Linked DNA regions of Homo sapiens: region 2 is linked to region 1. The links are contacts of gene promoters, found by promoter capture Hi-C in human tissues and cell types (Jung and others, 2019). All regions are on one chromosome and are shown on one strand. The core of a region is centred on a gene start or on the middle of the fragment in contact, and the rest is flanking DNA. Distances in the headings are between cores, read along the strand shown. Region 1 holds the start of NHLH2 (nescient helix-loop-helix 2). Region 2 holds the start of LINC01649 (long intergenic non-protein coding RNA 1649).

The links. Contacts are between HindIII fragments. The study calls those that stand out against the background at their distance.
Region 2: a fragment that was not itself captured here is called in contact with the fragment with the promoter of NHLH2 in region 1 in 2 of the 25 tissues and cell types used here (hippocampus and mesendoderm cells).

The regions. Positions count from the first base shown.
Region 1 is chr1:115,839,747-115,843,472 of GRCh38, forward strand. NHLH2 (nescient helix-loop-helix 2) reads right to left here and starts at 1,380. Exons shown (of 3, transcript NM_005599.3): 1 at 1,202-1,380; 2 at 470-798. The HindIII fragment of the contact is 10,676 bases long and covers 1-3,726 here.
Region 2 is chr1:115,915,703-115,919,660 of GRCh38, forward strand. LINC01649 (long intergenic non-protein coding RNA 1649) reads left to right here and starts at 3,674. Exons shown (of 3, transcript NR_125969.1): 1 at 3,674-3,857. It also overlaps the pseudogene LOC101928952. The HindIII fragment of the contact is 3,496 bases long and covers 459-3,954 here.

The DNA of each region.
Region 1 (3,726 bases), core at 130-2,629:
GCTTCTAGAGAAACAAAAGCAAGGGGATGGGTGATCGGTTCCCAGCACCGCACTTGCAGAGGAGCGAATTGGGCCAAAACAGCTTTAATTTCCCTGCGAGGAAATCAGGTCCTCTACGGCAAAATAAAAACAAATGCTCCCAGAGAGCTGCATGTGACTCCCTACGGGCTTTTCTCGGGTACGTTTATGAGTAGAACAACTTGCACCTACACAGTCAGCTTGAAAGGGCAGAAATAAATAGACGAGTAATGGAAAATCACAATAAGCCACTAAATAGTTGTAGTTCTGGTAAAAAGTTCCTGGGTTGCCCTCAAAGCACATTAAATTCTCCTCTAGATCTTTAAAAATATTCATAAATAGTATGCCGTGTATGCGTTTTATCTCTTTATGGAATGAACTGCATCTATAGATACAGTATGAATAATCTAACTTATTTCAAGCTGAAAAAAATTATTTAAAGGAGTCTTACCTTGCAAAAGCCTTTTTGATAATCTGTTCTCCAATCTTTAGAGTTAAAATTCCAAGGAATAGCGAGGGGAGATTCCGGAAAATATTAAAAGCAGCAAATATTTATTACATTCAAAAATGAAAAAGCAGCTGTCATCTCGCTGGTGTCCGCAGCGAGGGACAATAATATCTCAGGATGTAGACGATATGAATGATTGTTCACTTAGTTGATAGATTTTTTAAAAAACGCTTTTTCCTTTTAATTGTTCTCAAACATTGCAAGAAATTCGTTGATGATTTTTTTAAACGATGTGTTGAAAAGTCTCGTGCCTTTTTTCCTCTTCTAGGTCTCTAAAAATAACAAAAGAGATGCAGAGATAAACACAATCACATCAAAGGGCTGATTCCTCCACTTTCTAATAGCGGAATAATCAATAAGAAAGATGGTTAAGATAAGATTCCGCTCCTATCGTATGCCTTTCTTTTCCTTAATACGGCTGAGCAGAAACTGGGAAGTGCAGGACAGAGATGTGATCTTGCTCAGAAGTGATTTTTTTTTTTTTTTTGAGATAAGGCTTTGTTCAGCTGATATCTCCCCAGTTCCCAGGAACACAATACTGTAACTAGGAGCTAAGGTTGCCTCTTCCTCTTCCCTCACTTACTTGTATGTTGTATAAATAGACACCTATTTTCCAGTTTCAAAGTCTTTCAAGGTTTGGCTATATCCCCCGTCCCCAGCCCCTCTTCTCTTTACCTTGTAGCAAAATATATATAGTCAGTGGCTTGGAGATGCTTGGAGAAAGGTTGGTGAAAAGTGAACGTCTCCTGGAGTAACAGTGACAAGGAAGCAGAGAAAGACGGGAAGAGGGTGGGAGAGCCAGAGCAAAGAGGCAGAGATGCGTGTGTGGCTTCTGGGCTCTCCTGGTACCAATTGATTCAGCCTGGAGATGGTGGAAGAGATAAAGGCTTAGGAAGGGGGATGGAATTTTTTTCCCCTAAATTGATATTTAATGGGAAATCCTATTGGACAGAAACCTGGACATGAGTCACTTAATTGGACTTGACATCTGTCACAGTGTGGGAGTTTTCACAGCCCAAATATTTTAGCAGATCAGATTCCCACTGAATCTGTGCCATAAAATATAACAATTGAAAAGCAGTTCATGATAGAAATCTTAGCCTCTAAACAGTATCTAGCCGTAGTCAGGCTATTTCTCTTTTCCAGATTATTGATGAAATATTTAAGTACAAATAAACAATATATTGACTATCAAAGAATTCCCCTGGCATATTACAAAGCCACCACTTTCCCTTAATATTTAGAAAAATATTTGTGTCCAGAACATGGAAATATATACTATATAAGATGCTGCAATAAAGTATTTAGACATGCAACAGCCAACATTTATTAGAGATCATTTACATTTTAAAAGATACTTCAGTAAGGTTTGATTAAGCATATTAACATTTTTGAGAAATGATCTGCTATGAGACTAACTTATCAATAGATGGTAAGAACCTTTCAATAGATTAAGCCATTGGTGGAACTAGAAAGAGAATCCACATATTCACGGACCACGACATGAGATAATTCTACTTTTCTGTATGTTTGTTTTTCTCTCCACCCACTCATTCATTCAAGCTGAAATATGACATGCTACATGTGTTGATTATTGCACTTCATTCTTGCCCATCTTAACATGCTAATATATTGTACTGCGTGGCAGTGCTTGTGCCAAGATGTAAACACAAATTACCAGTGTGTCCCAGTACATAATGCCTTTGCCTTACATGATCCCATGGCCCTGAATTTGTATACCTTATAATAAAAAATAAAATCTAGTTCAATTATTTTGCCACTTTATGAAGATACTCATAGTTAATATCAATAACATATTATTTGTGATTATTTTAGCTTGTTTTGATCATACAAGCTTAAAGAAATAAAAGAGCATTACAGCCTTACTCCCACCCCGCCAGTTCCTAGGGGAACATTTGTGGAGAGAGGAGTCCTCACTTGTCTTCCTTAATTTTGCCCTAAAAGCAGATTTTATCACCAGGGGAGGCACATTGAGCAGCCCACCCCTGGGAGTGACCCTCCGGGTTTTTCATGGCTTCCACAAGTACTATTTGCCTTTGCCCACATTTTTGCTCCTTTGAGAGATTCCTGGACCACAATGGGGCAGGGGTCGGGGAAAGGAGGGAGTGCCTCCAACAAATAAGGGCACCAACACTCCCCAGCCTTGCTTCTGCCTAACCCCAGCACAGAGGTATATTTTAGATATCCCCAGAACGTTAAAGTGAAGATGGAAGCCGGTCCCATACAGGTGGCAATGGAAATGGGTGAGTGGATAAACACCCCAAGGTGGTGACAATGAAGGGAGAAGGGAGGTTTTCTCACTCTAGTTAGGAACAGCCAATGCTAAGCATTCACACACAACCAGAAGTGTGCACACAGATGCACACCCACAGACACCTGTACCTCCTCCCCCTTCATCATACAAGCTGGCTGGCTCTATTAGACCACCACACATCCATACTGATGGATTGAAAAAAACTGGTGGGTCTAATCACCATAGCTCTAGAGTGGGCAGCTGCTACAGTGGGAAAGGACCAGCATCTCTGGTTCCCCTGGTGTTGGGGAGTCATGACAGGGTGTGCCTATCAGGGCAGGTCCAATTCTGCTATGGTGTGTGTGATACCAGACAAATTCCCTTTTATGTTCAGGCTTACTCATTCTATACCAGCAGCCAGCATACACAAAAATTAATGCTTACAGAAGTAAGCCTGTATAAACAGGTACACACTCAGATCCATACTTAGTGATGCCTAGCCACACTGTCATAGACACAGACATGGATTCACATTCACACACACACATTCTTTCTTCCATCAAAGCCTCCCCCTCCCCCACCCCTTTGCCTTTTCTAAGACCTCCCTGGCACAGATGGCCCCTCCTTCTGTGCTCCATAAGCACTCCTTTCATGTCTCCCTTAGAGACTACATATTGTGTACCGTGATTCTTGGTTCTTGGTTACCACACTGGTCTCTCTTCCTAGGCTATGATGCTTCCAGGGGAGGTCTGTAGCTTATATCCCCAGCACTAATGTCTGAGCTTGACACATTATAGGTACTCAGTTCATTTATGATGTGACTCTATGTACAGAGGTACCCCAGATATTTGTAACATAGAAACGCTTCCACTAAAGGACACCCATGGTTCAGTTCTATCAATTTTCTTTCCTGTAAAAATGAGAATAATAATATTGCACTTCTCAT
Region 2 (3,958 bases), core at 957-3,456, 77 kb after region 1:
ATAGTGAGACCCTATCTCTACCAAAAATTTCAAAATTAGCCTGGCACGGTGGTGTGTGCCTGTAGTCTCAGCTACTCAGGAGGCTGAGACAGGAGGATCACTTGAACCTGTGAATTTGAAGATGGAGTGAGCTATGATTTTGCCACTGCTCTCCAGCCTGGGCAACAGAATGAGACCCTGTCTCTAAAAAATATTTTTTTAAAAAAGTATCATTTCCAGCCGGGCACAGTGGTTCACGCCTCTAATCCCAGCACTTTGGGAGGCTGAGGGGGATGGATCACGAGGCCAGGAGTTTGAGACCAGCCTGACCAACATGGTGAAACCTCATCTCTACTAAAAATACAAAAGTTAGCTGAGCGTGGTGCCGTGCCTGTAATTCCAGCTACTCAGGAGGATCGCTTGAACTTGGGAGGCAGAGGTTGCAGTGAGCCGAGATTGCGCCATTGCACTCCAGCCTGGGCGACAGAGTGAGACTCCGTCTCAAAAAAAAAAATTCAAAATTAGTAAATCATTAAGAGGAAGAGATAAATTGCCAATAGAAATAATAAATAGGCTTTTATATTATTTAATGATCTAATCAATAAAAAAGAATGAGTTATACGAATATATTTGTAAAATATTTAAATTTATAATTAGACAGGAATGTTTATATTGACAAAGATAATATAAACCATAATACACCATTAGAAGGAGGACATAGATCACAAATTAGTTAATAGTGAATGCCATCAATTCATAGCATATTTAAGATTAGTCATTGAGAGACTGAAATGCCACCTCATCGCAGGAGGCGCCTGGCAGGGATGGAGCTGGTGCGGGCCTGGAAGTAGATGTCCTGGTTCTACTACCAACACCTGCTGGTCACAATGCTCTACATGCTGGAGCCCGAGGAGCGGAAGGTGCTCAATTCCACGCTGGTTTCCATTGATACGCAGGATACATCTTCATGACCCAGCACATCATGGCGATATTGCACTACTTTGAAATTGTACAATAACCAAGATTAGAGGTTCCTTGGGGAAGACCCACCCTACGAAGTTGGAATGACACCATCAGATGTGATAAGAAACTCTTCTAAATGTCAACCTAACCAACCTAAAATTCATGAGTAGAACAGGAAAATCACCGACTCATGTGTTGTGTTCTATATTTTTCATTTTAAAAGAAGCTCTTGCATAGTAGCTTTTGTCTATTTTAACATTGCAGCCATTTGTACTTTGATATCACTATTTTCTTTTCTTTTTTTTTTTTTTTTTTTTTTTTTTTTTTTTGAGATGGAGTTTCACTCTTGTTACGCAGGCTGGAGTGCAATGGTGCAATCTCGGCTCACTGCAACCTCTGCCTCCCAGGTTCAAGCAATTCTCCTGCCTCAGCCTCCCTAGTAGCTGGGATTACAGGCATGTGCCACCACGCCCAACTAATTTTGTATTTTTAGTAAAGATGGGGTTTCTCCATGTTGGTCAGGCTGGTATCAAACTCCCGAACTCAGGTGATCTGCCGGCCTCAGCCTCCCGAAGTGCTGGGATTACAGGCGTGAGCCACGGTGCCCAGGTGACATCACTATTTTCTTAACCTTTGTGACTGTTTCAATATTACCCCCATGAAAGCTTTTTTTTATGTACCTTTGAGTACATTATAATTGTCTTATATTTTAAAGTCATTAGTTGGGCTTTACTGTTCTTGCTATTGTATGACATATACATCTGCCTGGATATATTTTTACTCTTGACCAAAGTTTTATAAGAACAATATAAGATTTAGGGTAGGGGCATGGGGAGGAAGGATATTTTATTAAGAACTACTTAAAAGAACTACTTGCTGGGCACGGTGGCTCACACCTGTAATCCCAGCACTTTGGAAGGCTGAGGCAGGCGGATCACAAGGTTAGGAGATCGAGGCCATCCTGGCTAACACAGTGAAACCCTGTCTCTCCTAAAAATACAAAAAAATTAACTGGGTGTGGTGGCGGGCGCCCGTAGTCCCAGCTACTTGGGAGGCTGAGGCGGGAGAATGGGTGTGAACCCAGGAGGCGGAGCTTGCAGTGAGCCGAGATCATGTCACTGCACTCCAGCCTGGGTGACAGGGCGAGACTGTCTCAAAAAAAAAAAAAAAAAAAAAAAAAGAACTACATATATCAAAATATATTTTATTAAGAGCTACTTATCTGTAAGCTTGAACTCACAAGTATAGTTTTAGCTATCTAGACTCTAACAGCTTTTGCTTTAAAACTATTAAAGCATTTGTGGTTTTTTTGTTTTGTTTTTGTTTTTTTCTTTTTTGAGACCAGAGTCTTGCTCTGTTGCCCAGGCTGGATCTCGGCTGCAACCTCCACCTCCCGGGTTCAAGTGATTCTCCTGCCTCAACCTCCCAAGTAGCTGGGATTACAGGCACCCGCAACCACACTTGGCTAATTTTTGTATTTTTAGTAGAGACGGGGTTTCACCATGTTGGTCAGGCTGGTCTCGAACTCCTGACCTCGTGATCTGCCCGCCTCAGCCTCCCAAAGTGCTGGGATTACAGGCATGAGCCACCGCACCTCGCCGGGTAATGATTCTTGAGACAAGAGGTGGTTAAGTAGCATTATTATGTAATGTTTATATACCATGGAGTTTTTACAAGAAGATAAATCTATTTCCTCTGAGGGCCACTATTAACAATGTACTTCCTTAAATTTAGTTAAGTGATCGTAATACGTGCTGCATTTGCACATTGCATTAAGTTATGATGAGCTGAATTGTTACAAATTATAGCAAAAAGAAGTGTAAACTTGGCTAAAATCCTTCCATTCTTTGTATTTTTTTAAAGATTTTTATTCCTTAAATGCAAAATGACTACCTAATTTTTTTATGTAAATTCATTAAATTCAAAGAGAAAAAAAGATTAGTCATTGAACAGTAACAACAACGAAAACAAATTAGAGATACTCTGAAATCTTAGAGTTCACATATGACAAAAATTTGATGGAAATTTCCTAAAACTGTGATCCCAAGCATTTATGTGATAGTACAAATAATGAGTTATGAAGCTCACAGAAACTTTTCCAAATTCTTAATGAAAAACAAATTTGATCAACCATGCTACTGGAAAGACTAATCTATCTTTATATGTACCCTCTTGATAGAAAATACTACAAAAATCTTTGTTATATGAAGTCGTGACCCAAGAATATATAGAGCCAAAAAATGAAGGCATAATTATATAGGGGTGTCAGGGCAATTAAGTACCATGTATATATATATATTTTTAATTTTGTGATTCTTGTGGCAGTTAAATATTTTTAAAATGTGTAATTGATAGCAATTTCTTTTCTCACTTTAAATCAACACTCAAACCTAATTTTGTATAAATATTCTTGTCATCTTTTTCTTTTAAAAAGCCTCTAAAATTATGTAAGCTTCAGACCCCAAAAGGAGTAACTTATCAAGAGGAAAAGATCCTAGATTCACTTCTGCTTCTACTTATTCTACTTCTGGATTTATTAAACCATTACTCAGATTTTAAAACACACCACACACAAAGAAAAGTTTCTAAAATAAATGAGCTAACATGGATTTTTTTCATATTCTCCATCTTCTTGATAGCCCAGAGATCCTGATACTCTTTGGACTTTGGTAGTGGAATGGTAGATGTGTGTTGAGAATGGAAGGGAGTTAAGGATGGGGTTCTAGAATTCAGATGCCCTCTTAGGGTTTGAAATGTGGGGGAAAAAAAAAGAGAATCACTGCTTATCTTAGTCTGTTCGGGTAGCTGTAACAAAATACCATACCTGAGTGACTTACAAGTAATAGAAATGTTATTTCTCACATTTCTGGAGTCTGGGAAGCCCAAGATCAAGGTGCTAGCAGATTTGGTGTCTGGTAAGGGCTAACTTCCTTGTTCAAAAATGGTGCCTTCTTGCTGTGTCCTCACATAGTGGAAGAGGTGAGGGAAATTTGGGGGGCAGCTCTCATAAGGACAC